Linked DNA regions of Homo sapiens: all the other regions are linked to region 1. The links are contacts of gene promoters, found by promoter capture Hi-C in blood cells and fetal thymus (Javierre and others, 2016). All regions are on one chromosome and are shown on one strand. Each heading gives the region's core, a stretch centred on a gene start or on the middle of the fragment in contact. The rest is flanking DNA. Distances are from core to core; before and after follow the strand shown. Region 1 holds the start of SEC61G (SEC61 translocon subunit gamma). Region 2 overlaps LANCL2 (LanC like glutathione S-transferase 2). Region 3 has its middle 41 kb from the start of ELDR. Region 4 has its middle 20 kb from the start of LANCL2. Region 5 overlaps LANCL2 (LanC like glutathione S-transferase 2). Region 6 has its middle 98 kb from the start of LANCL2. Region 7 has its middle 17 kb from the start of ELDR.

Region 1 (4,101 bases), core at 928-3,427:
ATTCATCAATGTTGTGGCAGAGAGTTTTCTTTCCTTAGCTATGGAGTACTATTCTGTTGTGGGACTATACCTGTATGTTTATTCATTCTATTGATGGTACCCTGTTGCTTTTAGTTCTGTTATCAATAAAGTTACTACGAACATTCCTGTACAAGTCTTTCTGTGAATTTAGTTTCATATATCTTCAATAAGTACCTGGAATTGGAATTGTGGAGCCATAGGTGGTGTATATATGCTTCATATTATGATAAACTACTAAACTTTTCCCAAAAGGGTTATGCCATTTTACACTCCTAGTAACCAGGAATTAGAGTTCTAGAGTTCTGATTGTTACGTATTTTTGCACAGATTTGCTGTTATCAGCCTGTTTTTTTTTTTTTTTTTTTTTACAGACGGAGTCTTGCTCTGTTGCCCAGGCTGGAGTGCAGTCGTGTGACCTCAGCTCACTGCAACCTCCACCTCCCGGGTTCAAGGGATTCTCTTGCCTCAGCCTCCTGAGTAGCTAGGGTTACAGGCATGCGACACCATTCCAGACTAATTTTTGTATTTTTAGTGGAGACGGGGTTTCTCCACGTTGGTCTGGCTGGTCTCAAACTCCCGAAATCAGGTGAGTAGACAATTATAACAATACACTGTAATGAAAGTTATTTGAATGTGGCCTCTCCCAGATTACCTTCTGGTACACATCTCTTTTTGAACCAGATTTTCTTGGATAAGGGGAACCACTGTATGTGTTACTTGATTTTCTGTGTTTTGCTGAAAATACTGTCAACTCAGACATTTGGTGGTTGGGGTGAACTTGCCAACATGTGATTTTATGTTTTTTTGGAATGAATTATTTTTTTGAAAATTATTTATTGAGCATTTACTGTGTTTAGCACTTTACTAGATGCTATATTATACCCACTTGGAGCTTATGGTCTAGTAAGGGGATTTACAGTGTAGGGAGACAGACCGAGGAATAAATAAATAAATGTTAATACAAATGCTATGCAGCAAATGAAGAAGGTATTGTGAAAAAGGAAAAAAGAGCATGAGATAGACAGGATTGCCTTAGATGGTCACTATAGGCCTCTAAGGAGATGACACATGGGCTGAAGTCCCAGGGATGAAGAACTAGTCAAACGCATCTCAGTCTGTTCAGAATTTAAAAGTGACTCTTAAAGCTAAGGCAAGGTATGTGTAGTGTGTATGGACCACCTACAGTCAGATATACGGAGGTGTGTGACCTCTAACCCTGACCCACTGAATCAATATCTGGAGGTTCTGGGGTTACAAATTTCATTTACTAAAAAACTTAACAGGAGATTTCAGTTACTGAAGAAGTTTAAGAAGCACTGAGAGTTGTAACACGTCTTAATGTTCCATCAGCTCTTCCTGAGTTATATTGTTCCTCAGATCCCGTTATGCTCCATTGCTAAAAGGAAACATGGCCGGGCGCGGTGGCTCACGTCTGTAATCCCAGCACTTTGGGAGGCCGAGGCGGGTGGATCGCGAGGTCAGGAGTTCAAGACCAGCCTGGCCAATATGGTGAAACCCCGTCTCTACTGACGGTTTCAGCCATCCGGCGGGGGGTTCCTGGAATGCATCCTTGTGGGTAAGTGGGGAGCTGTGTGTACATTATGACCACTCCCGTAACCAAACCTAGCGTTTGACAAAGGCCTCAATTACAGCGGCATTCATTACCGTGAATGACAGCCAAAGTCAAAGTTTGGGGTGGGGATACTATTTTGAATTAGGCCATAACATTATATTGCTCATAAGCTTCATTTCGACCAACATTATATACATACAAAAAGTATGTACCGTAAGGACACACATCAAGCTGGACCGCAGGAAAAAAAACCACAACTTAGGATTTACCTAGTCAGCCGCTACTAGAGAGCAAGCACCGCGCAAGGCCGCTGGGGCTCGTGCTGTGGACGTGAGTGGGTTGAGGTCGGGCTGGTGGGGTAACCCGGGATCCAGCCGGAAAAAAGGGATAACGCTAGACTCACACTCCTAAGGAAGGCCAACGCCCCAACTAGCGAGCTCCGCAATGCATCTCTTCCAGGAAGCGTGGCCGGGCGCACGTCGCGCTGCGCTTGCGCACTGAGGTTTCGCGTAAGGAACCAATAGGACGGAGGAGTGGGCGGGCTGTTGGCAGAAACCCGGATTCCGGTTCCGGTGGGCCTCCATCAGCAAGCTCCAGTGCTACGTGTCCCTGGCATTTTAGGTGTCGGTTGGGTAGGTGAGTTTCTTCCCACCGGTCGGTACGGGCGAACGGGGCGGCCACACCTTTGCGACTCTTGGGGGCAGCGGGCGTGGGCGAGCCGGCGTGTCTCCCCGGGCGGCCGTCGCGGGGCGGGCGGTAAGTGGTCCCCTGGCTCAGGGCCGGGGTCTGGCCGCCGACATCCCACCAACTCGGCCTCTGGCGGAAGGCAGACCCAGGGCCGCGGACTCCCGGCGAGCTGGGTGGCCGGCCCGCGGGGCTCCAGGGCTTAGCGTCCTGCCCCGGCGTCTTCTGTGCTGCAGCCAAAGATGATGTCCTGCTGCCCGATCCCTTCGGGGTTGGCTCTGTGTGCTGTTGTGGAGTCCTGTCTGGGAAGAGCTGTACTCAGCTCTGGTCCTGCCGCCGCTTCCGTGGTTTAAAGTGAGAGCATTGGTCTAGAGTCTAGTTCGAGAGATCATAGTTGGTTTTTGGATCTCTACCCCTGACATTGAGTGCGGTATTGTGTGTAGCGTGCGTTTTTCTGGATAAAGAATTCTTAGCTTCCTTCGTGACAACTATGATTACAAAAAGTTTAAGCCCTTTGGATTTCAAGAGCAAAGTTGAGTGAAATACTGAGAAAACAGACATTACTGTGTTTTTGCCCCCAGAACGTTGCAGAATTCCTGGTGTTTCATTGACATTATTTCATTTCGTTGTCCACACCCTACACTAAGGAAGGCAACTGGGGCTTACAGAGGTTTACATTCCATAGCCAGTGATTTGAACTACCACCTGGCCACTGTTCTGAGTACTGGAAATGGAGGAAAATACAAATAACACCCTGGCTGCTTTACTTACTATAGCAGTGGCTCTCAAAGCTAAGATCGGATAACATTTCTATTGGGTAATAGATTCCTCAAAAGAACCTGTATGGTAAAATATATAGCCCTGTTTCCTTAAAAGATGTGTTCAAATCGAAAAGTTTGAAATTTAGCTAGTAGCTTCTCAGAATTTGCGTCTTCCTTTAGCCATTCTTTATACTTTAGAAAAGTATGTTGTATTGGCACGTTTTAGAAAAATCAAGGTTGAAATTCACGTTTGCCTCTATTCTAGGCTCTTGCAGCACCGTAGTTGGCATTCACTGTACAAGACACTGGCTTCTGCGTAGTTTAAAATAAAATATGGAAAGTAATTGTTGGATCTCAACACTGATGGTTCCTTAGGAGCGGTGAGGGGACTGTAGAATGAGAAATGGATGGGACTGCAGAGTGAGAAAAGGAATGGATGTGTTACCAATTGCGTAACCTTTTTTAACCTTTTAATAGAGATAGGCTTTTTATATTGCGTGTGCTGTTCTTTGTCAGTGAAGATATCATGAGTAAGATCTGTGCTTTTCTTATTGCCTTTGATAATTAACTGAAATTTCCAAAAATAATATCAATTTAGGCTTTGGAGTTTGTTTTTTGTTTTATTTTAGGAGGTGGAATTGACCCATGTTAGACGTGAATTCAGTGGCTGGTCTCATTTACATCTTTATATAAATGAGCAAGTGCTTATTGTATGAGAACCAATACCAGTGAGTATCTTTTTTGTTTTAAACAGGCAGTCATGGATCAGGTAATGCAGTTTGTTGAGCCAAGTCGGCAGTTTGTAAAGGACTCCATTCGGCTGGTTAAAAGATGCACTAAACCTGATAGAAAAGGTAATTGCTTGACTATGAGAGAAAAAATTAAATCTTTGCATTTTCTAAGCCTTTTGTTTGATTAACATCTTGATTAATAGCCCTTGCATTACTTTGATCAACATTTTTATTGATTGATCCTGCGCGACAGCTTTTTAACGTTGTCACTTCTTCCTAAATTTTTTACTCGTCTAAATTTTTATGTATTTTCAAATGGTGTAAGATTATT
Region 2 (3,684 bases), core at 1,070-3,569, 650 kb before region 1:
CTTTGCTTTGTTAAAATACCAATACTTGATTTCCTTCCATGGGGCTCACACCTCCTAAAAAGCCAGGTACCCCTCTTCTCCCAAATCTATATACTGGCTTTGTTACTTGGCCAAATTATTTAACCTCAGTTTCTTTATCTCTAAAATAGAATAATCATAGCACTCAACTCCTAAGGTGTTTGTAAGAAAAAAATGCATGCCTCACCCCTTCATCCAACAATTTGTGGCAATACTGCCTTTTACGAACTGAAAGCACTCATTAAATGTTACCTACTAGAATTTATTACTGAGTTTGTGTGTTAAAGTTTTACTACAGGGACTAAGACTAAAAACATAGTTGGAAAATATTTGCTAATTTTGAGGCACTGTTTTTTTAAAAGGACTTAAATAAAAACATTCAAAGAGTCTCAAGTTACTGTACAGCTTCCCATGAAAAAACCTGGTGAGAAGAGTCAGATGGCAAAGCTGGGCTAAGTGAGCATCTTAGGGTGGCATGCCAGCCCACACGCCATCTTAGGGTGACATGTTAATGCCACACAATGTCTTTGGGGTGACATGTTAATGCCACAAAATGACTTTAGGGTGACATGTTAATGCCACACAATGCCTTCAGAGTGACATGTTAACATCACACAACATCTCAGGGTGACATGTCACCACATGACATCCTTAGAATGACAGTGCCACAGAACATCTTAGGGTGACATGTTAACACCTCACATCTTTAGGGTGACACATTAGCACATGACATCCTTAGAGTGACATGTTAATGCCACACAATGTCTTTAGGGTGACACATTCACAACACACGACATCTTTAGAGTGACAGGTTAGCACCACACAAACGTCTTAGGGTGACATATTAGCACCACAGAACGTCTCAGGGTGACATGTTAACACCACACAATGTCTTTAAAGTGACATGTTAGCACCACATAAATCCGCATATTGCTAAAGTCTGAGATAGAGAACCCGCCTCTGGCCACTGATTTTTCACTTGGCTTTAATTGCACATGTCAGGGGTGACGTAAAGTACTCTCAAAACTGAAATAAAATATTGCATTGCTTTAAATTCTCATCATTCCATAAGCACCAAAGTTTACAACATGACATCTCCTACAGAATGAAATAAAAACCTCATTTCTTCAACAAAAAGTTAATTTTATTAAAAATGAAGGAAAGCTAATTTAAGGAATATCAATACTTCTAAATTTCATTGAAATAAAACTATACTTAGTAGAAAATCTTTAGGTGTTTTTCCTGATACACACTTAGAGAATATATTAGCTTTTTAAAAACTATAGGTCATTAAGTTTATTTCCAAAAGGCTACATGGTACTTTTAAAATTACTTTCTTACAGGTAATCAATACAGAACCACTTTAAAATGTCAAAAAATGTTGAGGAGCTTATCTCAAAGACCAACAGACCATGTCGTTCCTAGGACACAACTGAGTTCCTTTTTGTTGTGGTGGTTGTTAGCTGCTTATTCATATTACCACAGTATTTCTAAACAATCCATGCATGGCTGTGCCCTGAGTTACTGATTCTAGGTTTCCCCTTGTGGCAGATGAGGGACACTTTCCTTCCTCTGATCTTCCCAAGAGAATTTCACTCTGGTCACCATTTTTAGTTTCACTCTGGTCACCATCCATAATCCTGTGTTCTTTACAGACTATACTATGCAAATATTGTTTGCTCCTGAAACAGGAAATACACTGAATTACAGATATTCTTTTACACCTTTTAGTTTTTCCTGGAGTAACTTTCTCACATTTTATTTGCTTAGTTTTCTTTAAACCAGTACCTAAGCTTTTTCATACCCACCAACAGCTCTGTAAAAAGTCTCTCGATAAGATTTTCCACATGGTCAAATCTACTATGACTTTGCTTTCCCTGGAGGCGACTCTCCATAATTGGCTGCTTTCCAGGTCTTCTGTGACACTGCTGTCCTGGGACTTGCACCTGTCAACTTCCTGGGGATTCTGCTCCCCTGTCTTGTATGGGAGCCCCTCTTCCCTGGATCTGATCCTCCTTCTTAGAGTACTCCCTTGTTGTGGTAGACACCACACTCCAGTAGCTTCCTGAGATGAAGTACAGGGAAATTAAATTTGGGGGACAGGATGTTTTAAACAGTCTTTGCTCTACTCCACATTTAATTGGTAACTTTCTGGGCAGAATGCAACGTTAGAAATCATTTTTACTCAAAACTTGGAAGTTGGCCGGGCACGGTGGCTCACGCCTGTAATCCCAGCACTTTGGGAGGCCGAGGCGGGTGGATCATGAGGTCAGATCGAGACCGTCCTGGCTAATACGGTGAAACCCCATCTCCACTAAAAAATACAAAAAAAAAATTAGCCGGGCATGGTGGCAGGTGCCTGTAGTCCCAGCTACTCAGGAGTTGAGGCAGGAGAATGGCATGAACCCGGGAGGCAGAGCTTGCAGTGAGCCGAGTTCGCGCCAGTGCACTCCAGCCTGGGCAACAGAGCAAGACTCCGTCTCAAAAAAAAAAAAAACTTGGAAATCATTTCCATTTATCTTTTAGCTTCAATGAAACTGTTGCAAAGTCCAATGTCATTTTTGGACTTTGTACATAACCTGTTTTTTTCTTTTCTTTTTTTTTTTTTTTGAGACAGAGTTTCACTGTCGCCCAGGCTGGAGTGCAGTGGCACGATCTCGGCTCACTGCAACCTCCACCTCCTGGGTTCAAGCAATTCTCCTGCCTCAGCCTCCCGAGTAGCTGGGACTACAGGCGCATGCCACTACACCCAGCTATTTCCCGTCTAATGTTTTAAGCATTGTCTCTTTATCCCTTTATCTTAAGCTTTCACAATAACGGGCATGATGTGGATTTGTCTGTCTGCACTCATTGTGTAGGAAACTGGTAGGTCTTTCCAATATGCAACTATGTCCCTCATTTCTTTTTTTTTCTTTTTTTTTGAGACAGGGTCTCATACTGTTACCCAGGCTGGAGTGCAGTGGCGTGATCTCGACTCACTGCAATCTCTCCCTCCCGGGTTCGAGCGATTCTCCTGCCTCAGCCTCCCAAGCAGCTGGGATTGCAGGTGCCCGCTATGAGGCCCAGGTAATTTTTTGTATTTTTTTAGTAGAGACGGGGTTTCACTGTGTTGGCCAGGCTGGTCTCAAACTCCTGACCTCAGTGATCCGCCCACCTCGGCCTCCCAAAGTGCTGGGATTACAGGCATGAGCCACTGCGCCCAGCCTATGTCCCTCATTTCTAGAGCATATTTTTGTGTTATTTTCCTCCCTCCTATTGTGTGTTCTCCCTCACTAGGTCTCCCACTAGTCACATGCTGAACCTCCTGGATTAATCCTCTTTCTTACGTTTTCCTCTCCCATTGTCTATTTCTGCCTGCTTTCTAAGATATGTGACTTTGCTTCCCATTTTCATGAACTTATTAAAAATTCAGCTATTATATATTTTATTTTCAAGAGCTCTCTTTTTCCCTCAAATGTTTGTTTCTTGGATGCAACAGCTTCTCTTATTTCCCTGAGGATATTAATTATGAATTATTATTTATTCGAAGCTTTCTTCCACTTCCTGCTTTCTCTTTGTTTTTATTTCTACTTGTTCAGGTCTCCATCTTTCAAGCTGGGGCTTTTCTGCCATGTCCGCTCATCGGCTACTGGTCTGTGCTCACGCATAAGGCACAGCTCCTCGCTG
Region 3 (3,774 bases), core at 22-2,521, 540 kb before region 1:
TAGGTAAGTAACTGAATTGGGGTTTGTCTTGGCTAAAATTTAATTTCTCCTTAGTGTTACAGTGCTCAGTAATAGTATAAGTTGTGGGATCATTTGTTTTGCTTAACTGGTTTTTTTTTTTTTTTTGGTTGGTTGATTGTTTCTGTTGTTCTTGTTGTTTCAGTCTTTCTTCCATTGGGTTTGACCAACTCTATTTGACTTGATCAAATCTGAAGGGAAGTTCCAAATTATGGGAACGAGGACTCCCAAGTGGCTAAATTCCCATACACACACACAAAAAGGTGGTGAGGTGGGGGGAGAAAAATGGCCAGCAAAAGGGAAACAAAAAGGAAAGATTTTTTATTTTGAGTACTTAAGGGTCTTTATTAACATAACGAGGCCACCTTTTTGCTAGCCAGGCCAAACGGAAAGAGCAATGGCTGTCGCCCCGTGCTGCAGTTCCATAGCTAAAGTTCTGCCTTCTCTTTTCACCACAAGAGCCTGGATTTGGTTCCCAAATCAAGCCCTTTCTCATTTGATACTTGGTACTTCTGAAATAGCAGGAATTTGTCCTAGCGGAAATATGGTAATGAGATTTTAAAAGATTTTTTTAAAGGAGCTCAACTGGACTAAAGGTCAGCTTAATTAAAAGCTAACATCCAAGATTCCTCTGTGTGTGTGTGTGTGTGTGTGTGTGTGTGTGTGTGTGTGTGTTTGTACTTAAAAGGCCTTCATGTTTTTGTTTTTGTTTTTTTTCTCCTAGGACCTTGTTTTTTTTCAGCAAAAGTTTTTTCTTCTAGTTGAATGAATTCTGTTTTCTTCATTTACTTCTGCTGTCTCCCCTTTCTCTTGCACCCTCTGCTGCATGAGAGACCTAAAATAGTTTTAGTAGATTAGATTGGGATTCCTTAAAGAAAACAGAAAAGGTGCCAGACTCCCTTTTGGGGAGAAACCTCTGTTTTTCCTTATGGAACCCCAAGAGTGTAAACAGACAAGTTCATCTCAGCTCTTAAACTGCTTGCTTTTGTATTGTGTTACCTGATTTTTTTACTAAAATAGCTATTGGAACAGAGACTACTCTTGTGTGTTTTTAAGGAAGAGTGTAGTTTAGACACTTATAAATGTTTTTGTTTAAAAACATTTTTAAGTGCACTGTAGCTGGGCACGGTGGCTCACGCCTGCAATCCCAGCACTTTGGGAGGCCAAGGCGGGCGGATCATGAGGTCAGGAGATCGAGACCATCCTGGCTAACACGGTGAAACCCTGTCTCTACTAAAAATACAAAAAAATTAGCCGGGTTTGGTGGCGGGCGCCTGTAGTCCCAGCTACTCTGGAGGCTGAGGCAGGAAAATGGCATGAACCCAGGACGCAGAGCTTGCAGTGAGCCGAGATCCTGCCACTACACTCCAGCCTGGGCGACAGAGCGAGACTCCGTCTCAAAAAAAAAAAAATTTTTGTCTCAAAAAAAAAAAATTTTTTTTTAAGTGCACTGTAAAAGCATCGTGTGGTCTAGCCTCATAATAATTCTCCCTTTTTGGAGACCCAGGATTCCAGTGATGGCTCTGCCCAGAGCTCAGAGATCCAGTTAAAATATAGGTAGTCTCTATCTAAATAAATTGGTCTCCTTAGACAATCCTATGATAGATTTCTATAATTTTATGTTTGATTTGGCATACATCTTTAATCTCCCTCTAGCACCACCAGACTTTTTCTCTCTGTACCTTGAGATGTAAATTTTGCTGATTTTTCACCTAAGAATTATTTCCTTCAATATGCAGACTTAGGGCTATTTAACTGACAACTGCCAGAGTAATGAAACAGGTTATCAAGAGTTTGCAAGTCTAAGATAGGAAAAAAAAAAAAAAGAGAAGGTCTTATGAATCGATAAGATGTACTTCTACTGTTATGCCTAATACTGTTACCGGTGGAGGGTCTTGACTACAAGTTGTCCAGGTTCTTGGCATTTTGAACAAAGAATTGAACAAAACTCACAAATAAAGTAGCAGAGGAATGAAATGCAGGAACACAGCAGTGAAAGCAGGAATTTATTAAAGCGAGAAAGCACTCCACAGGGTGAGAGTGGGCCCCAGCAACAAGCTCAAGGACCCAGTTACAAATTGTTTTGGGCTTTAAGTACCCCATTTGAGGTTTTTTTTTTTTTTTTTTTTTTTTTTCCGGAGTTTTGCTCTTTTGCCCAGGCTGGAGTGCAGTGGAATGATCTCAGCTAACTGCAGCCTCTGCCTTCCGGGTTCAAGTGATTCTCCTGCCTCAGCCTCCCGAGTAGCTGGGATTACAGGCACCTGCCACCACACCCGGCTAATTTTTGTACTTTTAGTAGAGACTGGGTTTCACCATATTGGCCAGGTTGGTCTCAAACTCTTGATCTCGTGATCTGCCTGCCTCAGCATCCCAAAGTGCTGGATTACAGGCATGAGCCACCCGGCCCATTTGAGGTTCTTATTGGCTACCGCTTATCTGGATTTGGTCTATGGCTAATTTAAGGCTGAGGTGAATTGGCGCCCTGTGCAGATGAAGGGAAGGTCCCCTGCTTGGCCCATAGCCAACCCAAGGCACTCTCCTTTTCCCCCTGAGACGTGGCGGAAGTGGGAGGGCTGTAGCAAGAGTAGCCTTTGATCCTTTGTTACCTGGGGTGGGGAGACAGGGTTTTTCTCTTTTGATTTAGCTGTAGGAAGTTTGTGTTAGTTGGCCTTAGGTTACCTGCCCACAGACCCAGGTGTTTTCCTTTTATCCAGCTTTGGGAAGTCAGCTTGAATGGGCCTTAGATTCCCTGCCCCCCAGGCCTTGGTGTTTTGTCTTTTTTTTCCTTTTTCCTTTTTTTTTTTTTTTTTTTTGAGACGGAGTCTCCTCTGCTGCCCAGGCTGGAGCGCAGTGGCGTGATCTCGGCTCACTGCAAGCTCTGCCTCCCGGGTTCACGCCATTCTCCTGCCTCAGCCTCCTGAGTAGCTAGGACTACAGGCACCCACCACCACGCCCAGCTAATTTTTTGTATTTTTAGTAGAGACGGGGTTTCACCATGTTAGCCAGGATGGTCTCGATCTCCTGACCTTGTGATCCGCCCACCTCGGCCTCCCAAAGTGCTGGGATTACAGGCGTGAGCCACCGCGCCTGGCCTTCTTTTTTTTTTTTTGAAATGGAGTTTCGCTCTTGTTGCCCAGGCTGGAGTGCAATGGCACGATCTCATCCCACCGCAACCTCCGCCTCCTGGGTTCAAGTGATTCTCCTGCCTCAGCCTCCCGAGTAGCTGGGACTACAGGCACCCACCACCATGCCCACCTAATTTTTTGTATTTTTTTGTAGAGACGGGGTTTCACTGTGTTAGCCAGGATGGTCTCAATCTCCTGGCCTCCTGATCCGCCCACCTCGGCCTCCCAAAGTGCTGGGATTACAGGCATGAGCCACCGTGCCCGGCTGTGTTTTTTCTTTTAGGAAGTCAGCACAAATGGGCCTTACGTTCCCTGTCTCCTACCCTATTCTCCTGGCTCAATATGTCTATGTATTTATGTGTTGCATACACAATGTTTCACTATTAAAAATATATAAAAGGGCTCTAATTAGTTGACTGGTTAGACAGTGGGTGCAGCCCATGGAGGGTGAACTGAAGCAGGGTGGGGCATCGCCTCACCCAGGAAGCGCAAGGGGTCATGGAACTCCTTCCTTTAGCAAAGGAAAGCTGTGAGGGACCATGCCGTGAGGGATGGTGCATTCTGGCCCAGATACTATGCTTTTCCCACAGTCTCTGCAACCCACAGACCAGGAGATTCCCTCAGGTGCCTA
Region 4 (3,962 bases), core at 1,370-3,869, 590 kb before region 1:
TGTTGCCTATCTCAAAGCCATAAAAATATTTTCATATGCTATCATCTGGAAGCTTTATTATTTTACCTTTCACATTTACATCTATAACCCACCAGGAATTATTTATGTGCACAGCATGAAGAGGGGAAACTTTTCATTTTCTCCAGTTGACTATTCAACTGGCCCAGCATTATTGCCTTTACTCATCATTCTGCACTGCCAGCTTTGTCATAAGTCAAGTACGTGTGCCCAGGGGAGTCTTGTTTCTGTTCTGTATTGTTTCCTTTGGTCCATTTGTCTATACTCACCCCAATACTGTTTCAATTGTTGTACTTTTAAACTGAGTCTTGAAGTTGGATGGAAAATTCCCACAATTTGGTTCTTCTCCTTCAAGATTGTCTTGGCTATACTAGGTCATTTGCAATTCCACATACCTGTCCAAATCCACTTGTCAGTTTCCAAAAAAAATGGGGAAACAAAAAACCCTTCTTGGATTCTGATTGGGATTGTTTTGACTCTATAGATCATTTCTGGGAAAACTGACATTCTTATAATACTAAGTCTTCCAATTACATGTTTATTTAGGACTTTTAAGTTTTGTTTCAATATTGCTTTGTGGCTTTCTGTGTAGTGGTTTTGCATATCTTGCATTAGATTTACTCACAGCCATCTGAATTTTTGAGGCTGTTTGTAATTGTTTGTTGCTGGCGAATAAAAATACAATTTGTTTATGGACTAAAAAAGACACCACTTCTGAGTGTAAAGGTGAGCCATAGGCTGGGAGGAGATATTGGCAGCACCTTATACTGACCAAGGCTTTTATCTAGAATGTATACAGCTCCTATTAAAGAGAAAAAAACAACACAGTGGAAAAAATGGGGAACAGTCCTGAAGTGATTCTTCACCAAAAAGGATGCTGAAGTGGCTAAACAGCCATATGAAAATTGTTCGACATCATAAATTCTCAGATAAATGCAAATCAAAATTATACAGTGAGATTCCACTGCAAATCCATCAGAAAGGTAAAGTTCAAAAGAATTTCAATACTAAGTGTTGGCAAGAATATGGAGTAGCAGTGTAAACTGGTATAATTTTTATTTTGTGGTTTCTTTTTTTTAACCAGCATTTATTTATACTACCATTTATTCTGTCCATGCTGGGGGTGAGGGGGAAGGGGTACAGAGAACCCCACAGACGAGGAGCGTGCTCCTGCAGGAAGACTGCATTTGGAGGCCAGTGGGCCCTGGGGGCTGGCGAGGGGCTTCTTTGGTTCTCAGAGGTAACGGAGTCCAGCGCAGGGGGCGGTAGGTAGGTTGCAGAAGCCGGCTCCCACCAAGCAGGCCAGCTCCGAGAGCCCGGGAGGCGTGTCCAACCTACGCTAGGCCGCGTGTGGCCGTGGCCCCGGCTCCTGTTCGGGTCTGTCCGGTCCCTATGCCCCAGGAGGGAAGCCAGCGCCGGGCCCCTGCTCTTCTCAGTGGGGAAGGTACTGTGCAATTCATCAGGTTTACATTAAAAATAATACAAATAACAATATAGAATTTAAAAAGCCTGTCTCAAACTTGAGACCAGCCCACCCGGCGCCCCGTGTGAGAAGCAGAGGCGCCTGCCGCAGCCCGGAGCGGAAATGAGGGCCTGGTTGGAGCCGCGGGCGGGTGCGAGGGTCTCTTGGCGGCTCGGGCCGTGGGGCTGAGGGGCGGAGACGGCCCAGGGCTGCGGGACTGGGGGCTGCAGAGAGCGGGGCGGGGACGCGCGCCAGAGGCCAGGGCGGGGCGCGGGCTGGGCTGGGCGGGTCTGCTGGGCGTCGCGTTCTCGGCGTCCGCTCATCCCGCTGCTCTGAGCTGCCTGGCCTCGTGGAGATGTATGGCGCTGTTTTGGAAGAGGCCTAGGGCGGCAGGAGAGGCGGGCGGGCGCCAGCGCTTGGTCTTCTCGGACCTTCCAGATAGCCGGATGCACGCAGGCGCCGCGCCCCCGCGGGAGCTGTGCTGTACATGCGTCTCTGGGTGAGATGTCCCACGTGGTCGGCCGTGAGGCTCCGCAGAGAGCACTTATAGGGGAGGCCCAGGCGCTGGGGAGAGCGCGGACTCGTCCACCTCCGTGCTGTGGATACCCTAAGAGGTCACAGGCCGCTCTCCAGGCGGTGCGGGTGACGATGGTGTTGGTGCCAAGCGGAACACGTTCAGCAGGACTGCCTGCAGCTGACGCTAATGTCGGCAAGAAAGCCGTCGGTCTTGACGAAGGCGTCGCGCACCACGTTCCTGTGGCCGCGTTACCGGGCCAGCTCCAGGCCGTGCGTGGTGCAGGGCGCCCAACAGTCCAGGGCATGGGTCCCAGTGGGGAGGCGTCCCCCAGAGCTTTCTCAAACGTCCTCACGAAGCCCTCCAGGCGCTCCTTCCGCCGGCAGGTGAGCTCAGCGACCTGATGGCGCCGCGCAACCCCGGGTCTCCCAGCCGCCCCCAGTGGCAGCAACTCCTCGTTGCGGACATAGAGCTCGACGAGGACACGTGGGACTCGGTGCCGCGGGACAGCAGGTCCTGCAGGAGGAGTCCTTGGGCTTCTTCTCCTTGGCCGTGAAGAAGACGGAGCGGTGGGTGTGGGACGGGGAGCCGTTCTTGAGCTGGGCCTGGGTTAGCAGGAGCTCCTCAAGGGGCTGCACAGGGCGGCCTGGTTCAGGTTCCTCACCGGGGGCTGCTCCAGTAGCTGCACGAGAAGCTGGTCCCGGCGGCCAGCCTGCCCACCAACTCCTCCTCCCGGGACACATCCTGTGGCCTCGGGGATTCCCAGGCGGCTGAGCTCTGGGAGGGTGTTCGTGGCAGTTCAGGTAGAGGTTTTCTCCGGGGTTGCCGGTCTCAGGTCATCGTTTCCTCTTTCAGCGCCTTCTCCATAGCCTCCTGGTGGCGCAGAACGGAACACTTCTGGATGAACAGGTTGAGATGGCGTTGGCGGATGACGGTGGTGACTGCCCCTAAACTCTTAGGGGATAATGGGTCTCTTTACACTCTGTAAGGATGGACTGTGGGCGAGTCGCTTACGGGTGATGATGGTGGTGGTCTTGGACGCCATCCCTCACCACCTGCGGGTCTCAAGCAGCTGGCTGAGGGGCTTGGGGCCTCACTGGGGGTCTGGCTGCAGCTGGCCACGAGGGTTTTCTGTAGGGGCTGCAGCCAAGCGGGTTTGGGGACGTGGGCGATCCTCTTGGAGCGAGGACGGCTCTCCGCTAGCCTGGGGGCGGCCTGCAGCCAGCTCACCTACTTCCTCTGCGCGTGCTGGGCCGGCAGGTAGCCAACTAACTCCTGCGCCGGTGGGCGGGGCACCGCGGGACTCCTCCTCTAGGGCTCCGCCTCCTGGCCTTGCTTGGAAAGATATCATCCTCTTCTGAACAGAGTGGTCAGACCCGAAGGTCTCTTCCTTGGGGGGCTGAAGGCCAGTCGACCTTTGTCCTCCGTGTTGACGCTAGTGGACTCGTCGAAGATCCACAGGCACGCCTCCAGGGGGTCGGAGTGAAGTCCACCTCTTTTTCTAGGGCTGAGTAGTCCACATCCTGCCCGCGCTGGAGGAGAAGGAGGAGGAGTAGGATGGGCCGGGGAGTGGGGCGGGGAGTCCTTGAGCCGCTTGGGCGATTTCTGAGCCTCCCCGAAGCCCAGGCTGGAGACCGAGTCTAAGTCCCAGCTGAGGCTGGGAGGGCAGGGGCCCACATCCTCGGCGCCACAGATTCCGGGGCCTCGTCCTCACTCTGGTCTCCGAAGAGATCAGGGTGGCTCAAGACCCGCTTCTTCAGCTTGGGGCGTCCTGGGAGGGGTCTAGCGAGCAGGCCTTCCACTCCACCAGCTTCCCTGCAGGGGCCTTCGTGTGCTTCCTGTCTGGGAGGGTTGGGGCAGCAAATGGACTTCGGTGGCCGAAAATGGCTTCTTACTGGTCGCTTCCCCCGCTCTGCCTTGCGGCAGGGGCTGCTGGCCTGCAGGCCCTTCTTGTCCACACCGGGCATC
Region 5 (4,016 bases), core at 251-2,750, 670 kb before region 1:
GTGCCAGCCCCACACATAACCACACAAGTAAAAAGGAAGCTTTTCTCCTAAACTGACATTCTTTTTTCTCTTTTCTGAGAGGTGTGGACACTGGGGCTGGGAAATGCTCAGGCCTCCCCCTGCAGACAAGGACTGGGCTGTTAAGAGAGGCCTCTTGTCTTTCATGACACAAGCCTTAGCTCACAAGACGAGAAGTACCTAGTCCCAGACCACCTCTTCCATGATGACAGAAACCCTTCTAAAAACTGAAATCTATGTGATAGAATTAATGAAGGTAGGCTAACCCAAATTACTGCTCACATTTTTTCAAATAAAAGTCACACAAATACCATAATGTTGTTGGTTAGAACATTATGTTTCTCATATCTATAAATAAGGGCTAGTACTTTTTATCACCCAAAAGTAGACAAAAAATAGGAAATGCATTCATTCCAAATTTAGATTTTGATAACTTTCCAAAAGGTTGAAGTAAGTTTAATTGCAGGGACATGAGTCCAGTTGAGTGTCTTTCTGTTAATCTGCAATAACCCATCTGGAACTGTATTTACTTTTCTTAGAACAGTAACTTATAATGTTGATAAACTGAGGTGGAGCCTGTTTTAGTAACATATACCTGGGTAAATGTTCTGGAACTGCCAGTGCTTAGTCACTGCTGCCTACAGTGTGGCCATCAAAGGCTTCTTGGGAAAGCTCCCTTTGGGTCCAGAAGTCTCCCCAACAAAGCTCCAGCTGCCCTGGACTCTACACAAAGCACCTGAAGCCTCTGCTGGGAATGGGGCCCTGACAGAGCTGCAATGCACTCTGAGGCTTCTTTAAAACACGAAGGTGAGTGTAAAATCCAAACGGGAAGCGTTCAGCTGTGCACTCCCAAACCACCCCAGCACGCCCCTGCAGAACTGCTGGTCCTGTCCGTCCTTGGAGTGGTCGCTCCCTCATTCTCATCTGGAAGGTGCCACAGAAAAGGCTGACAATGTATTATCACTAGGATAGACCCTAGATAATCTTTCTGATATACAAGATAGACACCACCTGTTCCCTCATTTGTCAATATGGAAGAAACCCCACTTTATACATTTTATACAGAAAAGTGGACACTGCCATACATTCATGCATGGTCAGCTCTGAGCCCTCAGGAATAGAAGGGCCTTCCATTTAAAACAGCTTACACCTGGAGACAACAAACACCAAGAAACATGCAAACACTACAGAGAATCTGTATGTGAAGAAGTCATATTTTATATTGATGAGGGTGCTGTTAGAAAATGTTGATGGATGGCTTCGGTCACTCATGCTAGTCTAACCAGAGGGGCCTGTGACGGTGTCTGCTTCTCTTTCAGGATTCCCAGTTGTTTCTGTGTCAGGCACTAAGCAATCTGGTGGCTTTTGGTCCAAATGGGTATTTTAGTTGTCTTTTTGCACCTTTTAATCCCTCTTCGAAGAGTCAAGTTCAAATGCTGGAAACCGTGATGTCTCTGGTCCCAGGACATCAGAGAGAAAGTGAATAGCGCCAGCCATGCCTGCAATGTAAAATGAGGAGCCTCTTAGGAATGGCATAAGGGTAGTGTCTATAACAGTGACTTTTAATCATTTCCCTTACCAGGGGCTGCAAGCATGTGGGAAAGGTGCTGAGGACTCTAAAGATGACTTCATTAAAAACCAAAGATATCCTTATATTTAGCACCTGGCAGGTAATATAATAACACCAGTTTTCCTCACTATCTTATATTTAAAAAACTGGTTACTGGGCTTTAATCTTATATCTTGAAACTTTAAGGTGGCATCACAGAATCGCTATGGAAGTTATGGATGCTGCTAATTACGATATTCCTATACACGGAGCTTCCCCTCAGAGCCTGTATATGCTCAAAGTTGCATTTTATATCTTCTTGATATTTGAAGAATGTTATTTTTAACAAACCTCAATTTGGTCAAAATCCCCACCCCAAATCATTGCAGTAATTGAGCAGTGGGTTTTCAACTAGACTCACAGCAGCTTAGGAAGGGTGTGGGGTGGAGAAGGTGCTAGTAGCCCACCAAGGCCTCCAGGTCTCCTGTCCCCACTCAAATCAGAACAATCCTCCCTTACAGGGTTTTTGTTTACAGTTTTTCTTTTGATGTAAAATTCACGTACAATAAAACACATAAATCCAAAATGTACTTCTCTGAGGTTTGTAAAATGCATATACATGTGCAAACAAAACCCGATTAAGACCTGGAATATTTCCATCACCCCAGGAAGTTCCAAGTGCCCCTCTCCAGTCCCTCCCATCCCTGTGGTCCCCCCAGAGGTAACCAGCAGCCTGGTCTTGGTCCACCATGGATTAGTTCTGCCTGCTCTGGCACTCTTATGAGCATGGCCACAGTGTACAGCCCTTGTATCTGGCTCCTTCGTCAGGGTTCCTGCAATTCATTCACGTTCTGTGCCTGTTCATAGTTGGCCCCTTCTTACTGCTGAACAGTACACTGCAGATTGTTTACCCATTTTTCCTACTGACGGTCATCTGGGGTGTTCCCAGCCTTCTCTGTAAGTTTTTGTTTAAAGAAAGGTTCCAGAAACTTGTTTAAAAAATTAGAAAACCACTGACCTAGGAGTGCCCATGAGAAGTAAACAGGGACCCATAACAAGCCTAGGAGGCCCTACAGCAGGCCCTGCGGGGATGAGCCTGGCTTTCCTGCTCAGGTGTGTGGGCAGCGGATCCACTGGGCGGTGCACTCCAGCAGGAGTGAGCTCCTCCAGAAGGGGTGCCAGGTGCCAGTGAGCCCTCCCAGTGGCTCCTCCAGCCGGCCAGTTTGCCACAATGGCCTGCATTGCTAGGCACACGGCTTAATAATCCCTCCGTCCCCTGACGGGAATTTGGTGAGAGTCCCCCACAGTTCTGTCTGCCAGGCACTGGCGAGGCACAGGGGAAGGAGGTGACCTATTAACTTCCCGCCTTTAGGGAGCTGTACATCCAAAGCTTTTGACCCACTGGGGCTCTGAAGGTGCTATTATCAAGTTGATAAACTCCATTTAGAGTTCAGGCATTAACTCTGTTATATCTGATGCAAATGCATTGCATTTTTATGACATAGAGGACTACAACTTTTATTCTAGTAAGTACTTTTTCCTTATGAGTTCTCTGAATATTAAAAAAGATCATCTTCTGCAAAACATGTGACACATGCTCTGTTTTCTGCTCGTATTTCTAAAATATGATTTAAAAATATTACCAGTATGAAAACTAAAACAGGACATACCACTACAGACGATGCAGACAGAGGATGATAAGGAATACCAATAGCTTACATATTTGCATTTCACCACATGTACGTAATTAACCAATTTCCCAAAAATTACAAACTATGACAGCTCACCCAATATGAAATAGATAACTTGAACAGCCCTATAACTATTTTAAAAACGGAATTTATTTTAAAAGTCTAGAAAAATAAATCTCCAGACCTAGAAGTTTGTACTGGAGAATTCTACCAAACATTTAAGTTACACTAATACCAATTCTTCCACCAATTAACACAGTCTGTCCCAGAAAACAGAAGAGAAGAAGATACTTCTCAACATGGTTTATTAGGTCAGTATGACCCTGATACCAAAACCAGAGAAAGACAGCACAAGACAGGAAAACTGTAGGCCAATATCCTTCATGAATAGAGATGCAAAAACCTTTACCAAAATGTTAGCAAACAGAAAGCACGCCCATACCCACATACAAATCTAACGAATATCCGGGCCTGTTTGTGGGGCTTCTGTTTGTGCTCCTGTCTTCCCTTCCCTGCGCCCGTGGTGGACTCTGGAATCCTTGTTGCTTTCACTGCCTGCCTATCAGTGCTCCTCTTTTCAGAACTTTCTTCAATATTCACTCTTGCTATTTTTTCTACTTACTAATATTTCTAATTGCTAATATTAATTATTCATACTTCTTTATATGATATTAAATATATTTAAGTAATTATTCAAGCTTCCCATGAATACACCAATATTAAATATGCAACATTACAGATGAAATGCAGAGGAGTAA
Region 6 (3,874 bases), core at 76-2,575, 700 kb before region 1:
CTTATATGGGATGAGATCTGCGAGCATCCCAGAACAAACCTCGAAGTGTAAACAGTATTTTGTACATCCAGAGAGAAGGGTTTCAAGATAGCTGACTAGCGACACCTGGCACTTCTGCACAAAGAAGGACCAAAACTGAACAATCACATAACAAGTGGAGCTTCTAAGAGAACAATGGAATTCATCAGAGAAGTGACAGGGAACATCTGAGGCTTGGAAGGAGAGGGAAGCAAAGCAGCTGGTCCAGCTGCAATCAGCTCGGAGCCAGGAGAAACCCCCCAGTGCAGAGAGAAGGTAAGCAAGAGATCTTCAGCAGTCTACATTGCCACACTGACTCTTACAGTCCTAGCCACAGGAGAGCCCCTCAGCCCTTGTGGGCCCTGAGACTAGTCTAAGGAGCATCCTCAAGTCCTCCAATGCCATTAGTCCAGAGAAGAACTTCACTCTGGGTCCCCCACACACCCCAAGATCAAGACACCTGCAGCATGGCATTATTTTGAGAGGCCAGCCTCCACCAGACTACATCCTTCCCCGGGACTCAACAGCCTCTGTATCTCCACATCCCTCTGACATCCCCTGACTGACATCTATCCAGAAGGCTGCAGCATCACAACACTGGCTGGACCCAGCAGTATAGCCAGATTCCCAGGACTCTGACTCATACAGTATTCTATGCTGCAGGGAATCAGTGGTACTGTGCACTGGGGAGGCAGTCACCAGAACAAAGGGAACTGGAATTCATGCTCCCCAAAGCCTGAGAGCTGCCTGGGTTGGGCCACGCCATTGACAGCAACCCCATCCCCCAACTTCCAGCAGCAGGGCCACTGTGCACCTGCAGATACCTTCAAGGGACCTGGAAACTGGTTTGCCAGGCACCATCCTGGAAACTGAAAACAGGTCTGCTGCACCTATCACCACCACCGGCACCCAAGCATGCCATAAAGGGGACCTGAGGATCAACCTGCCCTGCCCACCACAGCTGGCAAGTGCATGCACCATCAGGTAGGCCACCTGCCCACCACCTCTGCCCACACTAATGCATGTTGTTAAGGTGACCATGGGATCAGCCTATCCCACCTTCCACTTCTAGTGCCTGCACACACCATCGTGGGTTCTGATGACAGGCCTGCCCCCTACTCTGCCACTGCTGCTGGTACCCAGACATACCATCTGAGGGCCTGGGGATCAACCTGTTCAACCCACCACAGCCTGTGCCTGTGTGTACCCTTGAGAGAGCTGAGGATAGGTCTATACTGCCCAGTGTCATCCCTGCCAGTTGCCATGTACATTGGGGCCTGGTGATCAATCCACTCCACCTGCTGCCATTAGCATCTGCACATGCCTCTGCTGGTCTGAGAAGAGACCTGCCCAGTCTGCCGGAGTTTGCACATGTTGTCCAGGCATCTGGGGATTGACCAGCCCTGCCTGCTGTAGCCTGCATCTATGTGCACTATTGTGGGGCCTGAGGGCAGGCCCGCCCTGGCTGACACATCCCCTATCAGTGACCACATGCAATATCCAGGGTCCTGGGGATCAATCCACCCCACCCACTGAGCAGGTCATGCACACTGCTGGGGAGCGGGGGTGGGAGAGGAAGATCAGCAGGCTTGACCCACAACTACCACCACTGGGGCCCAAAGACTGCCCCACCTGGCATCCCCATCCCCAGCAAAGCCTCGCCACAGCCTCCCCAAACAACCACAGCCAATCCACTGAGGAACTCACAGATACCACTGACACTGATTATAGCTGAAGAAATATGGAAACTAAACTACTGCCCCCACCCAAAATAAAAGCCAAAGCATCCTACCCAACCAATACAATAGATACATCTATCAGGAAAAGTCTTTTCCTATGAAAGCCAATCCATAAAATTGAAAGAAGAGACAGTTACACCAGATGCACAAATATGAGTGTAAGGATATAAGAAACATGAAAAAGCAAGGAAACAGAATGCCTCTGAAGGAACACAGTAATTCTCTAGGAACAGGTTTGAATGAAAAAGCAATACATGAAATGCCCAAAAAAGAATTTTAAATAATGTTATTAAACAAGTTCAGTGCGATACAAGAGAACATAGAACAAAAACTGCAGAATACATTTTCTTGTCAGCACATGAAACATTCTCCAGGATAGGCCATATGTTTGGCCACAAAATAAATCTCAACAAATTTTAAAATTAAGATAATATCAAGTACCTTTTCAGACTACAATGGAATAAAACTAGAAATAAATAATAATACAGAGAAATCAGAAAAACAACTTATGATCTGAGTAAGAAATTCAACAGAGATAGATATCATAAAGAAAGAACCAAACAGAAATACTGGGACTGAAGGGTTCAATGAATGAAGTTAAAAATATATTGGGAGGCCGAGGCGGGCGGATCACGAGGTCAGGAGATCGAGACCATCCCGGCTAAAACGGTGAAACCCCGTCTCTACTAAAAATACAAAAAAATTAGCTGGGCGTAGTGGCGGGCGCCTGTAGTCCCAGCTACTTGGGAGGCTGAGGCAGGAGAATGGCGTGAACCCGGGAGGCGGAGCTTGCAGTGAGCCGAGATCCCGCCACTGCACTCCAGCCTGGGCAACAGAGCGAGACTCCGTCTCAAAAAAAAAAAAAAAAAATATAATCAAGAGTTTCAACAATAGACTAGACCAAGCAGAAGAAAGAATTTCTGAATTTGAAGACAGGTCTTTTGAAATAACCCAGTCCAACCCCCCAAAAAAAGAAGAAGAAAAGAAGAACAAAGAACAAAAGAGAGAGCCTATGAGACAACACAAATGAAATTTGAATATTGGGTGTTATAGAAGAAAAAGAGATGGGCAAAGGCATAGAGAACCTATTTAATGAAATAATAGCTGAAAACTTCCTACATCTTGGAAGAGATCTAGACATCCAGATACAGGAAGCTTAAAGATACCCAAATAGATTGAACCCGAAAAAGTCTTCCCCAAGGTATATTATCACTTGAGGAACATTTCAGCTTATAACTGTTGAAAGCCAGACAAAAAAAGAATTCTAAAATCAATAAGAGAAAAGTGTCAAATCACATATAAGGGAACTCCCATCAGACTAATAGATTCCTCAGCAGAAACCTTACAGGCCAGGAGAGAATGTGATAATACATTAAAAGTGCTAAAGGAAAAAGAAAACTGTCACGCAAGAACACTATACTCGGCAAAGTTGTCCTTCAAAAATTAAAGAGTAATAAAGTCTTTCCCAGCCAAGCAAAAACTGAGGGCATTCATCACCACTATACCAGCCCTACGAGAAATGCTTAACATGTTCTACATCTGAAAGCAAAAGGCTGATATTTGCATCATGAAAACATGAAACTCACTGGTGGAGCAGATACAAATGAGAAAAAGAAAGGAATCAAATGTTACCACTACAGAAAACCACCAAACCACAATGATAACCAATAAGAGAGGAAGAAATGAACAAAGGATGCACAAAACAAGTAGAAAACAATTAACAAAATGGCAAGAATAAGTCCTCACCTATCAGTAATAACCTTGAATGGGAACTGATTACATTTCCCACTTGAAAGATATAGACTAGCTGGGCCGGGCGCAGTGGCTCACGTCTGTAATCCCAGCACTTTGGGAGGCTGAGGTGGGTGGATCACGAGGTCAGGAGTTCAAGACCAGCCTGGCCAACATGGTGAAACCGTGTCTCTACTAAAAATACAAAAATGAGCTGGGCATGGTGGCACATGCCTGTAATCCCAGCTACTCGGGAGGCTAAGGCAGGAGAATTGCTTGAACCAGGACCCAGGAGGCAGAGGTGGCAGTGAGCTGAGATTGTGCCACTGCACTCCAGCCTGGGCTACGGAGTGAGACTCCGTCTCAAGAAAAAAAACAATGGACTA
Region 7 (3,851 bases), core at 979-3,478, 510 kb before region 1:
TTGGATTTCAGGGAAGATGTTGGGGCTGGGAATAGACATTTAGTGATCTGAACATTTGGCTCTTATTCACATCAGGGGTGGGTGGTGGATGAGAGAGAGGGGAGGGCCGGCAAAGGGTCCTGCAGGGAGCTGCCACGGAGGGTGCAGCAGCTCAGGGGGGCATGGTCTAGAAAGGTGGGAGATACTAGAACATGTTGTGTGTTTATGGTAATAATTGGGGTGGTGTCAGCAGATGGGGGGAACTGATGATGCCCAAGGGAGAGGAGATAATTATAGGTGCACAGTCCTTGAGTTGACACGAGTGGGAGGGACTGCTTGAGGAAGGAGCGAGGGCTTTCGCCAGCAGCCACAAAGTGGGCAGGGCCTCACCGGGCCCAGGTGCAGAACATCCTGCAGAGGTGGTGGCACTAGAAGATCATTGCATGTGCACACTCAGCAAAGTAAGAAGTGATGCCGTGGTTGGAGAGTGAGGAGAAGGGAGGGGTGTGGGGAGTTTGAGCAGTGAGCGGTTGTGAAAAAAATCTTCAGGGGAAGGGAGAGCAAATGGATTCTAGAAATATGGAGGGTCACTGGGCAGGGTGGTGGGCCTTGGGATTTATGGCTATACAGCCAGCGAGGCTGCCAGCACCAGCAGCCTCTGATGAATTCTGTTTCGTGTTCAGTCCCTCTCTCCCTGACAGGATGGCTTTCCCGAGAAGGAATTGCCGAGAAGAGGTGAGAATTGGCCTTCATCCTAAGAACCCAGAAGAGAGCTACAGGACGGGAAATCACACTGGGTGGCCAGGACAGATGTCCTTTGTGTGTGAACACATGGAGCATCCCTGTCACTGTTGCCTGGAGCCCAACTGCAGTGATGGCAATGGCGGGAAGGCTGCCAGGACCTGTCCAAGGGCCCAGCATTTCCCCTGCTCAGGGAAGGCACCATCAGCCGGGGTAGCCTCCTGCACAAGTGCGGGAGGAAAACAGTGAACCAAGCCAGACACGGTCCCCACCTTCCTGGAGCTCGAGTGGGGTCAGGCTGCTTTCTGTGAACTTCTCCCGGGCGGCTCCCCTGCTGACTGTCTGTCCAAGGAAGGTTCCTGGCTGCAGCCCAGTCTCTGACATCCCTGGGCATTTGGAATTGGAAGGCCCTCTTCACTCTGCCCACTTGATGTCCCCAAACCATGGCCCAGTTGTCAAAGTGGGTCCTGAACCAGGACCTTGCCTGTTGATTTTCTTCAAGGTTGGTGCCAGCAGTCCTGACTTCTTCAGTGAGGGAAGATGGGCTCCTGGCCGTAAAATCCACCTTACAGGTCTGCAGGTGTCACATAGCAGGGACCTGACCTTCCATGCCGATCCTGTCTGACGCTGGGGTGTCTGACAGGCAGTCAGCGGCAGGCACAGCAGGCCCTCTTCTTTTAGCATATAGAGTTCAGGCTACTGATGTGTTCTCTCAGGTCCAGAAAATCCGAGTACCAGGAGGGAATCACCCTGGGAGATATTTACCCAGAGATCCTTGCCGTCCTCACTGCAGTCTGTTCAGGCTTCCATGACAAAACCTGATAGACTGGGCAGCTTAAACATCTGACATTTATTTTCTCACAGTCCTGGAGGCTGGAGTAGTCCAAGATCAAGGTTCCAGCAGGGTTTGGTTCTGGTGAGGGCTTTCTTCCTGGCAGACAGACTGCACCTTCTTGCTGTGTTCTCACATGGTAGAGAGGGAGAGAGAGAGCTCTGACATCTCCTCCTTTTTTATAAGGACACCAGCCCTATTGGGTCATGGCTTACCTTCATGACCTCAGTTAACCTTAATCACCTGGTGATAGGCCCGGTCTCCAATACAATCACGTGAAGAGTTAGGGCTTCAGCAGGTGGAGTTTTGGGAGACACAGCTCAGCCCATAGCAGTCCTATAGCTCCATCTTGGCCCAAGAAACCCCTTATAGAGTCCCAAACAGGCTCTGTCCAGCAATATTTGGTTGTACTTCTGGATGACTGGATTTCTGAGGGTGGCACCTCAAAGCAGGCATGTCCTGCTGTCTGGAGTGAGGAGCTTGGGATAAAGGGCTGATGTTCCTGATTCTGAGGCTCCAGTCCTTCTGGAGGGAAACGGCATTTCTGGAGTTTCTGCTTCTCTGGCTATCTTGGCACCCTGAGGCTGCCCAAGGCACCTGATGTGCCTCATGTGAGGTGGCAGCTCCCCCTCCCTGCCCCAGTGGCCCAGCCCATCTGGCATAGCGCCAGGCCTCGTGAGGATGCTCTGTCTGCTGCCCCCAGGTTCATTGTTTCACATGAACTCTGGGGAAGGGTGTGGGAGCCGGGGGGCTGTGCTCAATATATGTCCTAATTTTAGAAGTAAGATTGGCAGATTTCCCTCTGTTCTAGCTAGGACTAATGATAGAAGTCCAAATACAATCAGGTCAGGAAGAAAAGGGTCCTTCCTGACTCTCAGAACTAGTTTAGTGAGTTTCTTCAGCAGCAGTGGGGTCAGGCTGTCAGTGCCTGCCAGAAGTCAGCCTCCCGCCCTCTCAGCTCTGCTCTGCACTGGCTGGACCTTCCCTGCTGTGGAAAAGATGAACTCCAGCACTCCAGGTGCACACAATTCCTGCAGTTGGCAATTGGGTAAGGAAGGAGAATTTTGTCCTCGAATGTCCTCTCCCCTATTCATGGACGTTCTGGTTGCTTTTGCTTGGATCCTATTCTGTGGGGTCTGGAGGCATGGGGCACCCTGATTGGCCTGTTTTGTTTATGCAGGAGGCTGTGGCCCTGGGTTGTCAGCCTGGCAGCACTGTGTCTGGTGCTGGGGTCTGCACGAGGAAGCTGCACGTGGACACAAGTGCAAGTTTGCCTGCTCCTCAGCCTCTCCACGGCGTGCATCTGAGGTCCAGGCTTGGCCGCAGTGCCCACACTTAGAAGAGAACATCAGGAACCTTCTGCTGTCAGGAGAACTGGACTATGTGCCTCCCATTTCCAGGTCCCAGCATGCTCTGGCTGCCTCTGTTCAGCTGTGGCCTTCCTCTCGTGCAGCATGCTCTTCCCAGCGCCATCACTGCCTTTGCAGGCTGATCAGCATGGTCACGAACATGGGGCTACACAGGGGGAGCTGGTGTCCCATGCCCGGCCTCTCCTTGCGTGAGGTGCTTGTTGGCCATAATCGTGTGGCTCTTTGGCCCACCCCAAGGTGGCCTTCTGTCAACATGCTTTTGACTTTCTGGCAAGTCGTCCTTGTCTTGCCTGTGTTTTTTTTTTTTTTTCCCATGTGACTTTTTCTCCAGCATGTCCTCACCCCCTTCAGGCTCCACCCAAGCCTGCAAGGAGAGGCCAGGAGAGGTGGGGATGGCAGCTGCTACAGCTTAGTTTCCTTAAAGTTGTGTCCTTGGCTTCGTGGAGCTTGAGGGGAGGTTTGTAGGCTTTAAATATTTTTGCTCTTTGGATGGAAACCCAGGGCCTCCCGGTGGCCTTCTCCTCCACTGGAGGGTGCTGTAGTGTAGGAGGAGTAGTTGTGAAATTGATTTAAAAGCTGTTTGTTCCAAGTTCAATAAGAGAACCATGGGAGATGTCACCACGTTAGACTATGGGGTGGTGGTCTTTGGGGATGGTGGTGGGAGAGGGAGTTCCCATTGGCCATCATCCCAAGATGCCATTAATGCCGGGACAAGAAACAGGGCTCAGGGAAGTGACCCCGAGACAGGAGTGAGGACAAAGCCCTCATCTCCCAGGGGTGGGGTGTTTGTTCCAGGCTCTGAAGTTTGGGAGGCCTATGTCATATTTTGTAGGGTGTGGGGGTGCCTCAAGGAGGCAGTTAAGGCCCAAGGTGGGAAACTGGTCCCTGGGGGATGGACGAGGGTCTCAGCCCCCATGTAGCTGCACAGA

Evidence for each region. Contacts are between HindIII fragments. The CHiCAGO score rates a contact against its expected background, and 5 or more counts as called.
Region 2: a contact is called between a fragment that was not itself captured here and the fragment with the promoter of SEC61G in region 1, in 4 of 17 cell types (naive CD4 T cells, naive CD8 T cells, total CD4 T cells and 1 more). The highest score is 7.8, in naive CD4 T cells.
Region 3: a contact is called between a fragment that was not itself captured here and the fragment with the promoter of SEC61G in region 1, in 1 of 17 cell types (total CD4 T cells). The highest score is 5.7, in total CD4 T cells.
Region 4: a fragment that was not itself captured here is called in contact with the fragment with the promoter of SEC61G in region 1 in 3 of 17 cell types (non-activated CD4 T cells, naive CD8 T cells and total CD4 T cells); the score reaches 5.6 in non-activated CD4 T cells.
Region 5: a contact is called between a fragment that was not itself captured here and the fragment with the promoter of SEC61G in region 1, in 6 of 17 cell types (naive CD8 T cells, total CD8 T cells, non-activated CD4 T cells and 3 more). The highest score is 8.3, in naive CD8 T cells.
Region 6: a contact is called between a fragment that was not itself captured here and the fragment with the promoter of SEC61G in region 1, in 5 of 17 cell types (naive CD4 T cells, total CD8 T cells, naive CD8 T cells and 2 more). The highest score is 8.3, in naive CD4 T cells.
Region 7: a fragment that was not itself captured here is called in contact with the fragment with the promoter of SEC61G in region 1 in 10 of 17 cell types (total CD8 T cells, non-activated CD4 T cells, naive CD4 T cells and 7 more); the score reaches 8.9 in total CD8 T cells.

The regions. Positions count from the first base shown.
Region 1 is chr7:54,757,287-54,761,387 of GRCh38, reverse strand. SEC61G (SEC61 translocon subunit gamma) reads left to right here and starts at 2,177. Exons shown (of 4, transcript NM_014302.4): 1 at 2,177-2,230; 2 at 3,794-3,893. The coding sequence starts at 3,800. It overlaps SEC61G-DT (SEC61G divergent transcript), which reads right to left and starts at 2,075. Exons shown (of 3, transcript NR_110040.1): 1 at 1,864-2,075. RefSeq lists an enhancer at 1,039-1,974 and a silencer at 2,208-2,527. The HindIII fragment of the contact is 2,422 bases long and covers 1,767-4,101 here.
Region 2 is chr7:55,407,924-55,411,607 of GRCh38, reverse strand. The region is part of intron 5 of LANCL2 (LanC like glutathione S-transferase 2); the gene reads right to left. Among named protein-coding and RNA genes, the nearest start is that of LANCL2, 44 kb to the right of the region's middle. The HindIII fragment of the contact is 1,012 bases long and covers 1,814-2,825 here.
Region 3 is chr7:55,295,043-55,298,816 of GRCh38, reverse strand. No RefSeq gene overlaps it. Among named protein-coding and RNA genes, the nearest start is that of ELDR, 41 kb to the right of the region's middle. The HindIII fragment of the contact is 6,525 bases long and covers 1-3,774 here.
Region 4 is chr7:55,342,896-55,346,857 of GRCh38, reverse strand. It overlaps the pseudogene LOC100129276. Among named protein-coding and RNA genes, the nearest start is that of LANCL2, 20 kb to the left of the region's middle. The HindIII fragment of the contact is 5,129 bases long and covers 55-3,962 here.
Region 5 is chr7:55,428,727-55,432,742 of GRCh38, reverse strand. LANCL2 (LanC like glutathione S-transferase 2) reads right to left here. Exons shown (of 9, transcript NM_018697.4): 9 at 1-1,517. The coding sequence ends at 1,423. Among named protein-coding and RNA genes, the nearest start is that of LANCL2, 65 kb to the right of the region's middle. The HindIII fragment of the contact is 2,918 bases long and covers 42-2,959 here.
Region 6 is chr7:55,461,409-55,465,282 of GRCh38, reverse strand. It overlaps a transcript of VOPP1 not described here. Among named protein-coding and RNA genes, the nearest start is that of LANCL2, 98 kb to the right of the region's middle. The HindIII fragment of the contact is 3,179 bases long and covers 1-2,914 here.
Region 7 is chr7:55,270,861-55,274,711 of GRCh38, reverse strand. No RefSeq gene overlaps it. Among named protein-coding and RNA genes, the nearest start is that of ELDR, 17 kb to the right of the region's middle. The HindIII fragment of the contact is 4,625 bases long and covers 1-3,851 here.